Linked DNA regions of Homo sapiens: region 1 is linked to region 2. Evidence: promoter capture Hi-C in human tissues and cell types (Jung and others, 2019). All regions are on one chromosome and are shown on one strand. The core of a region is centred on a gene start or on the middle of the fragment in contact, and the rest is flanking DNA. Distances in the headings are between cores, read along the strand shown.

Evidence for each region. Contacts are between HindIII fragments. The study calls those that stand out against the background at their distance.
Region 1: a contact is called between a fragment that was not itself captured here and the fragment with the promoter of DKK1 in region 2, in 1 of the 25 tissues and cell types used here (lymphoblastoid cells).

What each region holds. Positions count from the first base shown.
Region 1 is chr10:52,712,185-52,719,621 of GRCh38, forward strand. All of the region lies in intron 1 of LOC105378305 (a long non-coding RNA gene), which reads right to left. Among named protein-coding and RNA genes, the nearest start is that of MBL2, 57 kb to the right of the region's middle. The HindIII fragment of the contact is 8,163 bases long and covers 1-6,024 here.
Region 2 is chr10:52,311,079-52,317,792 of GRCh38, forward strand. It overlaps DKK1 (dickkopf Wnt signaling pathway inhibitor 1), which reads left to right and starts at 3,203. Exons shown (of 4, transcript NM_012242.4): 1 at 3,203-3,599; 2 at 3,845-4,007; 3 at 5,217-5,357; 4 at 5,476-6,579. The coding sequence starts at 3,357. The coding sequence ends at 5,729. PRKG1-AS1 (PRKG1 antisense RNA 1) reads right to left here and starts at 3,050. Exons shown (of 6, transcript NR_038277.1): 1 at 2,556-3,050; 2 at 2,320-2,407. The HindIII fragment of the contact is 6,920 bases long and covers 1-6,247 here.

The DNA of each region.
Region 1 (7,437 bases), core at 693-3,192, 400 kb after region 2:
CACTCATAATTGTCTAACATATTTCCTCTACATACATTGTGAATCACATTAAACAGCATTATAATTATTGCTTCAACTATTAAACAAAATTTAGAAACCTTAACAGAAAAGGAAATGTATTTTTACTTTTTCTGTTTTTTTTTTTCTTCATGATGTTCTAATATCTATTTTTCTTCTGTTTGGAGAACTTCCTTTAACCATTCTTCTAGAATATGTTTGCTAGTGACAAATTGTCTTAGCTTTGCTTCAATGAAAATGTCTTGATTTCCTCTTAATTTGTAAGGGTGTTCTAACTGGATATAGATTTTTGGATTAATAGTTATTTTTTCCAGCACTTAAAAAATTCTATGCTACTTTCTTCTGGCCTCCATGGTTTGTGATGACAAATCTGTTATCATCCTAATTATCTTTCCTCCTAAAGAAAAGATCTCACTCTTCTCTCCCTGCTTTCAAAATATTTACTTTGTTGTTATTGTTCAGAAGTTTGACTATGATGGTGGCTTTGGTGTGATTTCTTTGAGTTTACCCTGTTAGTTTTTCACTCTGCTTCTTGAATTTGTTGGTTTATGGCTTTTGCCAAATTTGAGAATTATTAGCCATTATTTCTTTGAATATATTTTCAGCTCTTTTTTCTTTCTCTCTCCTTCTTGGACTTTGATGACAGTACTATTAGACCTTTTGTTGTAGTCTCACAGGTCCCTGAGGTGGTATTCTTCTTGTCATTTTGTTTTTGTTTTTGAGATGGAGTCTCGCTCTGTCACCCAGGCTGGAGTGCAGTGGCGCAATCTTGGCTCACTGTAACCTCCGCCTCCCAGGTTCAAGCGATTCTCCTGCCTCAGCCTCCTGAGTAGCTGGGACTACATGTGCTTGCCAGCATGCCTGGCTAATTTTTTGTATTTTTAGTAGAGACGAGGTTTCACCGTGTCAGCCAGGATGGTCTCAATCTCCGAATCTCGTAGTCCGCCTGCCTCAGCCTCTCAAAGTGCTGGGATTACAGATGTGAGCCACCGCACCCGGCCTTTCTTGTCGTTTTTTTATTTTGTCTCTGATCTTCAGATTTGGTAATTTCTATTGCTTCACTCTTAAGTTCCCTGATGAGTCTTTCTTCTGTCCTTTGTATTCTATTGTTGAGGCCATCCATTGAATTTATTTTTAAAGTCTTCTTTATTATATTCTTCCATTTTAAAGTTTTTATTTGTGTTTTTAAATACCTTCTATTTTTCTTTATTTTGATTGCTGAAACTTTCTATTTCTTCGTCAACATTTTCTCTTTTAAAAAATTTGTTTCAGTAATGTTTGTATTGCTCATTGAAATGTTTTATTATGGTTGCTTTAAAATCCCTCTTAGATAATTCTAATATCTATGCCACCTTGATGTTGCATCTATTGATTGTCCTTTCTCATTCATGTTGAAATTGTCTTGTTTCTTGGTATACGGAGTGATTTTTCTATTGAAATCTAGACAATTAAGTTATTATAAGACTCAGTGTCTTTTTTCAATGTTCTGTTTCAGCAGGTTTCCTCTGATATCATTCTGGCAAGAGAAAGGTAGACATCGCCTTTCACTGCCAGGTGGGATGGAAATCCAAATTTCTCACTCAGCCTTCATTTGCAGGAGGGCCTCTTGGTTACTGCTGGATGGAGGTGGAACTTCTGGCATCCCAGTTAACCTCTGCTGATACCAGCCTGGCTAGGAGGGTCAGGGATGCCTTGTTACTACTTCTCAAGGGTCTTCCACTGACACCATGAGGTAGTATGGTCTTTATTACTGCTGAGTATAGTGAAAGTTCTGACTCTCTATTAGCTCTCCTTTGACACCACTCTGGTAGTGGGACAGGGTGTTTCTACTGCAATGTAAGAATGGAAGTCCAGTTTTCTCATTTAACATCCTTGCATGTGTGGGCTTGTTCTTTCCCTGTGGATGTAAAAGTCCTGGATATCTACTGAATCTTCTCTGACACCACTCTGGCGGGGAGGTTGGAGTATCTCATTGTGCCTAGAGAGGGTAAAAGCTACATTTACACTCAGTCTTGGTTGTTTGGAGTTGGGAGTAGGGCCCCTGTTTTTTTTTTTTGTGATGTTTGGTTGGAGAAGAGCAGTTACTAAAAGTTTCTGTCTTGCTAGACATCTCCTCTCCTAGACCTTTGGATCAAGGCATCCAGCTTCTCCTGGGGCACTTTTTCTTTGTACCAGTTTGTTTTCCAGGTGGCCATCTTCTCCAGTGCCCAGTCTGGAATATGTGAGATGACAAGAAAACTTTAAAAACTTATTGTTGTATTCTTGCTTAGATTCTAAAACATTTAGCTAGTTGATCCTTTTTTCTCCATCTTGCAGAGTCTTCTTATGTTTGTTTTATATATAATGTCCAGGATTCTTACTTGTATTTACCAGGAAGAATAGAGGAAAAATACTTCAACTCTATCTTTCTTGACGCAAGAGTCTCTTAAAATTTATTTTTTAGTTCTTCAAACTTGATTTCTTAAATGATATCATGACTTTCAGTTGTTACATCATAATAATAGGTGTAAAGTTTATAGAAAATACCTTTGGAAAATTCTATTAACATCTGTCACATACTATAACAAGCGTATATTTTTAAAGAGTCACAAAAAACTAGAGAAGAAAATGTTACTAACTTTTCAGTAATACAAATACAAAGTATATTACAAATGCTTTTCTGGGATATATTTGTATATCATGAAGGAAGGACATTATGTTAACTTAGTTCTCAGTAAGATTGGAAAATCCTATAAATAAAAATACATTTAAATGTAAATGAAGGTCAGCTTATACACTTAATGAGTATTATTGATGAAAGTACACAATGATAATGGTAAAAGACAACCCAAAATTTCCTTTTAGATTAATGACTCTTACAGTATGCCAAATTAGTGATAAATAATAAGACAAGGTTTTAAAAAATTAATTTCAAAACATTTAAAAGTTATATTTTATGTTGCTATAATAATGGAGGTTAATACTGTTAGGGTGTTGCCAATTCTACTATAACAGTGAAGTTACCAGAATAATATTATGGAACATTGGGTAAGATCAGCAGAAATTTGTTGTTGTCATTGGTGTCACTGTTGTTGTAAAAAGTCCCCTAAATATTTTATTTTCTGAATTTTTAGCTGCAAGTCCATATTGGTAATGCAAGATTACTTTTTCTAGCAAGTAAATAAAGATAAATAGCATTTAGTATATAGTATTGACAATGACTGATTTTTATTTTCCATTTCAGATGTTGGGTTTCAATGCAATTTATCTATTTTTTAAAAAGATTTTAGCCGGGCGTGGTGGCGTGCCCCTGTAGTCCCAGCTACTCGGGAGGCTGGGGCAGGAGAATGGCGTGAACCCAGGAGGCAGAGCTTGCAGTGAGCCAAGATCGCACCACTGCACACTAGCCTGGGTGACAGAGTGAGACGCCATCTCAAAAAAAAAAAAAAAAAGATAAAAAATATCTAAGGCATGGAAGTTCATTAAGCTGTCAACTAATTTTTACCAATTTCTATTTAAACACAACAATAATAACTAACAAATTTATATCAATGTATTCAGTTATGACTAGCGTTAATAACTTATGTACTGGCAAAATAGGAAATAGCTGAGTAGCCACGATCAGAGAGGTAGAGGGGTAATGTTCAGTTTCTAGAGTCAGGATAGTCTTGCTTCTAGTCTGTGTCTGTTACTCACTAGTTGTATGACCTTGGCAATTTACTTAAACCTCTTGCCTTAAATTCTTCATTAGTAAATTGGAATAATCATACATAATTGATACAAATGGATATCACTATTTCCAAATATCTCCTGAGGGGAAAAATGGAGAATGAATCCTGGAGCACTGAAGTGCCTGGTTTCAGGTGATCCCAGCCCCAGATGATGCACATTCTTCCTGGTGTTCAGTGGTCCAGTCTTTCTTCAGACTTCAGAGATAGACGAATTTGCCATTTTGGCTTCAGCAAGTCAAGTTGTATGGTTTTTTAGTCATATAAGGCTGTCTGATTTATACTGATTAATTATATTAGTGACAATATTTCTCTAGTCAGCCATTTTAAAACCTAAGATTGAAAAGTGGTCAATTTATAAGGATGGGAGAAATAAATACGTTGAGAGAGTGAAAAAGGCAAAACTATGGTTACCCTGAAGAGGTGAACCCCCAAAACACTGTAATAGCAGAAAACAGTAAGGCAGTTTGATAAGCATTTTGCAAAAACATGATCTATTGAATATTGGTAGGTTATGTAAGAGGTACATAGACATGGTCCTACTTTGCAAGGGGTTCATCATCTGAGTCCTAATTTAATCAGCTACTCCGTCTGCTTCTTTCCTTTTTGCTCTTTCTTCTTCACTCTCTTTCTCAATCTTAATATCCTCATAATTGTTTTCAACATTCAAATCTCTGGCTTCAAATTCTTTTACTTGAATTGGGTAGTACCTCAATAAGATTTCCTGGCAATAAATCAGAATTTTAAAAGCTCTAACAGTTTTCTAGCTGCTTCTGACCATAAGGTTTTTCATACATATTTTATCAAAATAACTCCTAAGTATGATTTTTTTTCTTTCTAGCCCTATGGACTTCTAGTATTTTTGCTTCTATAAAACCTGCCCTTCCTTCATGATGTGATCTGAATACCAAATTGCTTCAAATCGTCTGTTCCAACTAGCCTGTCTAGAGCATAAAGTCATTGGATGTACCTTTAACTTAATGTCTGAAAAATGTCTTAATAAGTAGCTTTATTTTAAAACAAAAACCTAACAACGAACAAGGTCATGTTCTCTGCAGCAACATGGATGGAGCTAGAGGTTATTATCCTAAGCGAACTAACACAGGAACAGAAAACCAAATACTTATGTTCTCACTTATAATGGGAAGTAAACATTAAGTACATACAGACATAAAGAAGGAACAACAGACATCTGGCCCTACTTGAGGGTGGAGGCTAGGAGGAATGTGAGGATCAAAAAGATACCTTTCGGGTACTATGCTTATTACCTGGGTGATGAAATAATTTGCACACCAAACTCCCATGACATGTAATTTCCTGTATAGCAAACCTGCAATTGTACCCCTGAACCTAAAATAAAAGTTTAAAGAAACCTACGTAAAATACATTTAGTACTATAATGAAGCTTGAATATATTGCACATGGTGATGAATGATAGAGATAATGCAAATTTCTCTTAACAAATTACTACATAAAAGAAATAAAAAGAGAAGAAGAAAACGTATAAGAAATCTGTGTTAGGGAGCTGGAGATAAAACACAAGTTGGTAAATCTATAATCATCAGCATCAATTTTGAGGATACCAAGAAGCGTGTATGGCCTATAATAATTGAAGACAGTTTACTTAAACATTTTAGTTCATACTGACATATAAGAGGTCTCCATTACAGTTAGCTCCTATGTCAGTAGTTCTCAAAGGATGTGCTGACTAGCACATCTGAATTCAAGAATCTGGGCTTTAAACAAGCATCCAGTAGATGGTTTTCTAAAATAAAGTTTTAGAATAACTTGCCTAAGCTATGTAAAAGTAACCCAGGGTCACTATTATATTTGAATCCAGATTATAGACATCTCTAATCCAGAAATTTTTACATTTAGCTCTTTGAAAGTTGTTCCTTATCCTAAGATTTGCAGTACTTGTACTGGAAGCCAGGTTGAAGAGAAATAATAATTAGGGGAAAATCAGGGTGTTACATGTCTTAAATTGTCTATCCTCAGCTATGGCCAATTTCATCATTGTATTTCTTCTATTTCTTATCATACTCAGGATTCAAAAGTACAATAAAGATTACTTATTCATTTCTTGAGCAAAAAAGTCTTGAATATGAACAACAAATTTACTATAAGGATGGTCACCAAAAATTATTTAAAAGAAAGAAAAATTAATAACTTAAATGTACATCTATGGAAGAATGGTCAAATATGATAAAGGCACAGGTATGGGATAATATTTAGCCAATATAAATCATGTTACATAACAGAATTTAATGTTCATTATATACTGATAAGCTAAAATAAAAGAAAACGAAAATGGTTAGAGTTTTCTCTTATATCTTAGTACAGGCAGAGATAGGATGGTCTTTTTTGGAACCTAATCAGACTCATCAATTTTTTTTCCAAATATAAGCAACTTATTATCTACATATCTGGTTTATAAAGCATGCAAAACTATAGTCCCTGCACTTCAGACCTGTGTGAGGAGTCTGTTCAAGCAGAAGCAAAAAGAACAAAGCTGGAGGCATCATGCTACCTGACTTCAAACTATACTACAAGGCTATAGTAACCAAAACAGCATGGCATTGGTACAAAAACAGACACATAGACCAATGGAACAGAATAAAGACGTCAGAAATAAGACTGCACATCTACAACCATATGATAGTCAACGAACCTGACAAAAACAAGCAATGGGAAAAAGATTCCCTATTTCATAAATGGTGCTGGGAAAGCTGGCTAGCCATATGCAGAAAATTGAAACTTGACCCCTTCCTTATACCTTATACAAAATTTAACTCAACCTGGATTAAAGACTGAAATGTAAAACCCCAAACCGTAAAAGCCCTGGAAGATAACTGAAGCAAAACCATTCAGGACATAGGCATGGGCAAAGATTTTATGACAAAAACATCAAAAGAAACTGCAAAAAAAGCAAAAATTGACAAATGGGATTATTTAAACTAAAGAGATTCTGCACAGCAAAAGAAACCATCATCAGAGTGAACATACAACCTACTGAATGGGATAAAATTTATTGCAATCTATACATTTCACAAAGGCCTAATATCCAGAATTTACAAGGAACTTAAACAAATTTACAAATAAAAAAATTACCCCATTAAAAAGGGGACAAAGGACATGAACAGACACTTGTCAAAAGAAGACATTTATGTGGCCAACAAACATATGAAAAAAAGCTTGACGTCACTGATCATTAGAGAAATGCAAATCAAAACCACAATGAGATACATGAGATACCATCTCACGTCAGTCAGAATAGTGATTATTAATAAGTCAAAAAGCAACAGATGCTGGTGAGGCTGTGGAGAAATAGGAACACTTTTACACTGTGGGTGGGAATGTAAATTAGTTCAACCATTATGGAAGACAGTGTGGCAATTCCTCAAAGATCTAGAACCAGAAATACCCTTTGACCCAGCAATCCCATTACTGGGTATATACTCAAAGAAATATAAATCATTCTATTATAAAGATGCAAGTGTATGTTCATTGCAGCACTATTCACAATAGCAAAGACATGGAATCAACCCAAATGTCCATCAATGATAGACTGGATAAAGAAAATGTGGTACATATACACCATGGAATACTATGCAGTCATAAAAAGGAGCAAGATTATGTCCTTTCCAGGGGCATGGATGGAGCTGGAAGCCATTATCCTCACCAAAGTAACAAAGGAACAGAAAACCAAACA
Region 2 (6,714 bases), core at 1,953-4,452:
ACGCTGATAAGCATATTTCACCTATTCAAAAATATAATACAAAATATTAAATTTGTTACATTAATTATGATCATATTTATACCAGACTGAATAGGAGGCAGGGTTCCCTACAGGACTAAATAAACTCAGTTTAATAAACTAAATTCATCTACTCTGGCTCCCACCTCCTCTGTCACCCAGCTGTAAGAGAGACTCAGACAATCACCAGAACCCTCTCTCCTTCCTAAGACATGTTGGTCACAGTTCCTGCACATTTTTCTTGCTCTCCATGACCTAGTATCTGCCAAAATATAATCGATGTTGGAAAAATTTTTACCCCCAGCCCCATGTAAGTATGTTGTATTTCCCCAACTAGTCACAGACTGAAAGCTGAGGACAAGAAGCCTGCCTTTCATATTGTGAGATATGCTCCCAATAATGGATACTCACCGAATATTAACTGGCTGCTGATGGAACAATGAGTTTTACTATACCTCTTTATCTACCTTGCACTCTTGTTGCCAATGAACAAACCACATCCTGGAAAGGATTTTCAAATGGAGAAAAAGTACTGAAAAAATAAATTTCCTCATTTGGAACAAAGGTTTGATTTGCTATGTACTTAGCCCTCTCTGAGGACCACCCATGTAATTTCTCCCCTGAATAATTTGTGAGGTTACCTCTCCTCTGCCCACTAAATGATTTGAAGGTAGATTATATGTGAACTCATCTTTTATCACACAATATCATGTATAATGCTTAGCACAAAGTAGGAACTCAGATATTGACCAACTCATTATTAGTTTTAAACTCATGACAACTTCAGGAGCAATGTGAAAGCTGAGGAAGGAGGTAGAAGCTAGCCCATTCTTGAAACTCTATGCTTGGTTTAGCTCTCCTAGCTCAATACCACAGATTCTGTCCAGACTCAGTGAATATTGAAACATAATAGACAAATGATATGTGTTCAGAGATCAAGGTTGAATTTATGCAACAAGCTTCTTTGTTATAACAGAATTTTCCTTTTGTTGATTAAATTGTTCCACTTTCTCTTCTTTTGCCCCAGGCAATGGATTTTTTTTGTGAAGCCAAGCTTTTAATGAACCAAGTTCATTAAATGTATTAATCATATACTATCTCTTCAGAAAAAAAGGCAAGAGATTGGCCTTTAGTGTGGCACAAATATATTTCTAGATTCAAAATATTTAAACAGGTTAATAGGACTAAAAAGAAACATTTTCAACCTTCTGATTGGCAGGCGGATTTTTCTCTACGTTTCAAAGTCATTCAAACTTAACACAGCTTGCAGATTTCCTAGTACACTGAAGGTGCTTAACGCATTGATTCCTGACAGGATAATTTCCTGGACAGATGGAATTTGGGATGGGAAGGACACTAATATAACTAGGGTACCATTCAAGAATTGTTTAGATGATCTTCTTAATATTACCTTTGAAACTGAAGGAACTAGAACACAGACCATAGTAAATTGTGTTTTAATTACTCCTTCTCCCAGTAAACTTTAGGATTTTTTTACTTTAAGATTGTCACTGGCTTTACTTGGTGGTGGCCCCAGTTCTGACTATAGTAGGTCAGCATGTGGAGTCATTATAGACAGCCTAAATCTATACAGCTTAGAGGAAGACAAAATAAATATATCTTACTCTTTTTTAATTCAATAGTGATTATTCAATCATCTCTCCCTTTTCCAAACTCACAAAACAGTTGCTTATTTTCTGACACTTATAATATCAACCTGTTTTTAAAAGAATTATGTATGCTTTTATATTTATTGCTATAATTTTATTGTTACTACATCTTTTATTATTACTGTAATTAGAATAAAGAGAACTTTATTATTTAAAATGAGAGCTGTGTCTCATAAATATTTGTATTCACTGTGCCCCTCCCCCCACCACCCATCTCACCAAAAAATTTAAAAAATAAAAATAAGGTAACAACCCAGAGGGCAGCCCAATGCCAGGGCTCTAGGCTTCCAATAAGTTTTTGTTGAATTAAATAGATCATTTCCCATTTATAAGCATGACATCATTCTTATACACCAGCCTTACTTTATTATATCCACACACCAATTTCAATGACGTCAAATTCACTTTCTAATTCACTTTCAGCTCTTCTTCTCCTCAAGGTTGTTTCTTTTCTCCCTAGAAAGGGTATTGCGTGGTCCCGTGCAAGGTAAGACTTGGGAGCAAACCCTGCATTCGGAAGCGTTGCGATGTGATATACTAATGAGGAAGTCAGGCGCTAAGCCCTAAGGGTTTCTTATTTCTCCACATTAGCCCACCACTGAGAAGGGAGAACCGGGGAAAGGCGACTGACCTGGCACGTTGGACCCTGTCCGCTTTGGTCCCGGCCACTTTGATCTCACGCGTCTGCCTAATCAAGTTCATCTACCGCCGCGATTGCCCTGATTCAAAGAACAACATTAAATGGTTTGATTATCGGATGGTCATTTCCCTCTTCCCTCCACCCCTGATCTAATTTCTAAACGCCAGTCTCTCGCCTCCCTCTCTAAACTTCCCATCAAAAGAGAATTAGCTCTTCTTCCTTCTTACCCTCGTTTGATGTGCAAATTTCCTTCTCTTTGCACATTTTTCTCGCAGTGGCGGGGGGAGGTGGGGGAGGAGGGCAACTGAAGGACCTCAAAGCCGGGGATCTAACTCAGATCTGCAAACTGCGACTCTAAAGGGTTAATGAGCAACTTGCACCCGCCACCTGGCCCTCTCAGAGGCGTCTTGCTAGAGCCATTGAATTACAGACCGGTTTGTATTTAATACTGAATATGACTTGTGTGCACAGTCAGCGAGTATTGGCATAAAGGAGAGGGGCAAAAAGTGCTTTTGCAGAGCCTATCACCCCTCGGCTCTGTAAAGTATTTCAGATCCGGATAATTCAACCCTTACTGCCAGGCAAGGGCACCCAAGTTCCCAGAGTTCCTGCTGCCGCCTGCATTTATTAAAGTCGTCTGCTATAACGCTCGCTGGTAGCCTTCACCCCGAAGGTGAGCCGGGCCAGCCGAGCGACTAAGCAAGGGAGGGGCGGGGTGAAGAGTGTCAAAGGCCCCCCTTCATGTACACAAACACACCCCCTCCCAGCCCCTCCCAGCGCTTTGAAATCCCATCCCGGCTTTGTTGTCTCCCTCCCAAGGGGCCGGAATGCTCCGGGCCCGCGGTATAAAGGCAGCCGCGGTGGCGGTGGCGGCGCAGAGCTCTGTGCTCCCTGCAGTCAGGACTCTGGGACCGCAGGGGGCTCCCGGACCCTGACTCTGCAGCCGAACCGGCACGGTTTCGTGGGGACCCAGGCTTGCAAAGTGACGGTCATTTTCTCTTTCTTTCTCCCTCTTGAGTCCTTCTGAGATGATGGCTCTGGGCGCAGCGGGAGCTACCCGGGTCTTTGTCGCGATGGTAGCGGCGGCTCTCGGCGGCCACCCTCTGCTGGGAGTGAGCGCCACCTTGAACTCGGTTCTCAATTCCAACGCTATCAAGAACCTGCCCCCACCGCTGGGCGGCGCTGCGGGGCACCCAGGCTCTGCAGTCAGCGCCGCGCCGGGAATCCTGTACCCGGGCGGGAATAAGTACCAGACCATTGACAACTACCAGGTGAGAGGGGTCGGGCACTCAGAGGATGCTCTGACCTTGAAAGGGTCCTATCTGGAGACGAGGGAGTAGAACGTGCTGAATGTGTGCGGTTCAGGGAGCATTTGGTAACCCTGCATTTGGGAGCAGTGGGCAGTAACAGGTTTTGGAGAGGTGGACAGATAAGGACTGTGATCAGCGCCCGGGTCCAAGAGGGCGGGTACCTGGACGTCTGGGTGCCTCACCCTCTCCCCGAACCCTTCCCACAGCCGTACCCGTGCGCAGAGGACGAGGAGTGCGGCACTGATGAGTACTGCGCTAGTCCCACCCGCGGAGGGGACGCAGGCGTGCAAATCTGTCTCGCCTGCAGGAAGCGCCGAAAACGCTGCATGCGTCACGCTATGTGCTGCCCCGGGAATTACTGCAAAAATGGTGAGTCCTGAAAGCTCCCTTTCACACTAAAACTGTCCAGCCTTTGAGCGTCTATGAATTGGGCGGGGGCGGGGGGTTGGGGGGGGTGGGGGGAGAAATCTCCGCCCTGAGAACACTGCGGCGCCACCTGCAAATGGGTGTTCAGCATGCAGGATTCCGCTGAAGTATCTTCATTGCAAGTGTTTAATCGGGAAGAAGAGAGAAGTTGGGAGGTCTCTGAGGTCCTTATCTTCCTCCGTGTCCCTCAATGATTCAATACAACGGTTCACCTCGTAGTGGACTCTTCCATAAAAATTTGTCTGGGGAGAACCTTGAGGTCAATTGAGAAGGGGGATGATGAGGAGGACGATGGGATCATACAGATATCAAAGAAACCAGCTTTGGCGTTCAGCTGTCCTTTTCATTTTTCTTATTGTGATTCTCACAGTTTTGCCAGACTGGCCTCGCCTTCTGATTTTTGCTGAAACTGTTGTCAGCCAGAGGACTGATTTATCTGCATTGGCCATTTTTAAGAGAGATCTTGGTACCCTCACAACTTGACTTCTCCATCCTTCCCCCTCCCTCTACCCTCTGCTGCCTTAATATAAGTACTCCTCCCCCCAACCACAGATCCACTAACTTTTAATTTTTCAAAAGGTGGATTTAGACAGCTAAAGAGGTCTCCAGAAATAAGCTAACAGGGCGACGACCCTCCTTAGGACCCAGCAGTACTCCAGGATGAACTAAGTAAATCTCTGTAATATAGAAATTACACAGTAAAGTAACTGGCCGGTGAGATTGCAATGTTCCAGGCAGCTGGAATTGCATTTGCTTAACTTAGTCTGGTAGGACCCATATAGCACCAGGGGCAGAGAAGTTATTTTTAAGAACATTTTTAAAGTGACTGAGTTTCTTTTTCTTACCCCAAAGGTAATATTAAAATGGGCAGAAATCTCACTTGCCCCTACCACAGTTGGTGGGAAAGTATTTTAAATGGCTATACTGGGGATATTACCTATGACTGACTGTATACAGTATACACATTGGTGCTTCTGTCCATCTGGAGAGTTTTGCATTAACAGTAAAGAGGAAGTTTGGCTTGTGTTTAAAATGATGTCACTGCAATGAAGTATCTCAAGTTGATGCTGGCATAACAGACTGCCACTGTCACAGCTGTTAGCAGTAATGCATTACAACCCTGAAGTTAATCACTATTTCCTGCTTCCTTAGGAATATGTGTGTCTTCTGATCAAAATCATTTCCGAGGAGAAATTGAGGAAACCATCACTGAAAGCTTTGGTAATGATCATAGCACCTTGGATGGGTATTCCAGAAGAACCACCTTGTCTTCAAAAATGTATCACACCAAAGGTAAGGATGTTAAGACTCATTCTTAGCACATCAGAAGTGTCTTTTGAATTATTTTAGTGAAACGATGCAGGTTTAACAGTAACTATGTACTTTTTTCCTACTGTCTTCTCCTTCGTAGGACAAGAAGGTTCTGTTTGTCTCCGGTCATCAGACTGTGCCTCAGGATTGTGTTGTGCTAGACACTTCTGGTCCAAGATCTGTAAACCTGTCCTGAAAGAAGGTCAAGTGTGTACCAAGCATAGGAGAAAAGGCTCTCATGGACTAGAAATATTCCAGCGTTGTTACTGTGGAGAAGGTCTGTCTTGCCGGATACAGAAAGATCACCATCAAGCCAGTAATTCTTCTAGGCTTCACACTTGTCAGAGACACTAAACCAGCTATCCAAATGCAGTGAACTCCTTTTATATAATAGATGCTATGAAAACCTTTTATGACCTTCATCAACTCAATCCTAAGGATATACAAGTTCTGTGGTTTCAGTTAAGCATTCCAATAACACCTTCCAAAAACCTGGAGTGTAAGAGCTTTGTTTCTTTATGGAACTCCCCTGTGATTGCAGTAAATTACTGTATTGTAAATTCTCAGTGTGGCACTTACCTGTAAATGCAATGAAACTTTTAATTATTTTTCTAAAGGTGCTGCACTGCCTATTTTTCCTCTTGTTATGTAAATTTTTGTACACATTGATTGTTATCTTGACTGACAAATATTCTATATTGAACTGAAGTAAATCATTTCAGCTTATAGTTCTTAAAAGCATAACCCTTTACCCCATTTAATTCTAGAGTCTAGAACGCAAGGATCTCTTGGAATGACAAATGATAGGTACCTAAAATGTAACATGAAAATACTAGCTTATTTTCTGAAATGTACTATCTTAATGCTTAAATTATATTTCCCTTTAGGCTGTGATAGTTTTTGAAATAAAATTTAACATTTAATATCATGAAATGTTATAAGTAGACATACATTTTGGGATTGTGATCTTAGAGGTTTGTGTGTGTGTACGTATGTGTGTGTTCTACAAGAACGGAAGTGTGATATGTTTAAAGATGATCAGAGAAAAGACAGTGTCTAAATATAAGACAATATTGATCAGCTCTAGAATAACTTTAAAGAAAGACGTGTTCTGCATTGATAAACTCAAATGATCATGGCAGAATGAGAGTGAATCTTACATTACTACTTTCAAAAATAGTTTCCAATAAATTAATAATACCTACCTAAATGGTCAATATTTTTCGGACAAGGAAGAAAATCATCCACAAAAATAATACTCCAAAGTACTTGGTGATTGGCAGGAACAGGATGTGTGCCCATAAATACAGTTAACAAATACATGCAGATTTTGTACCAA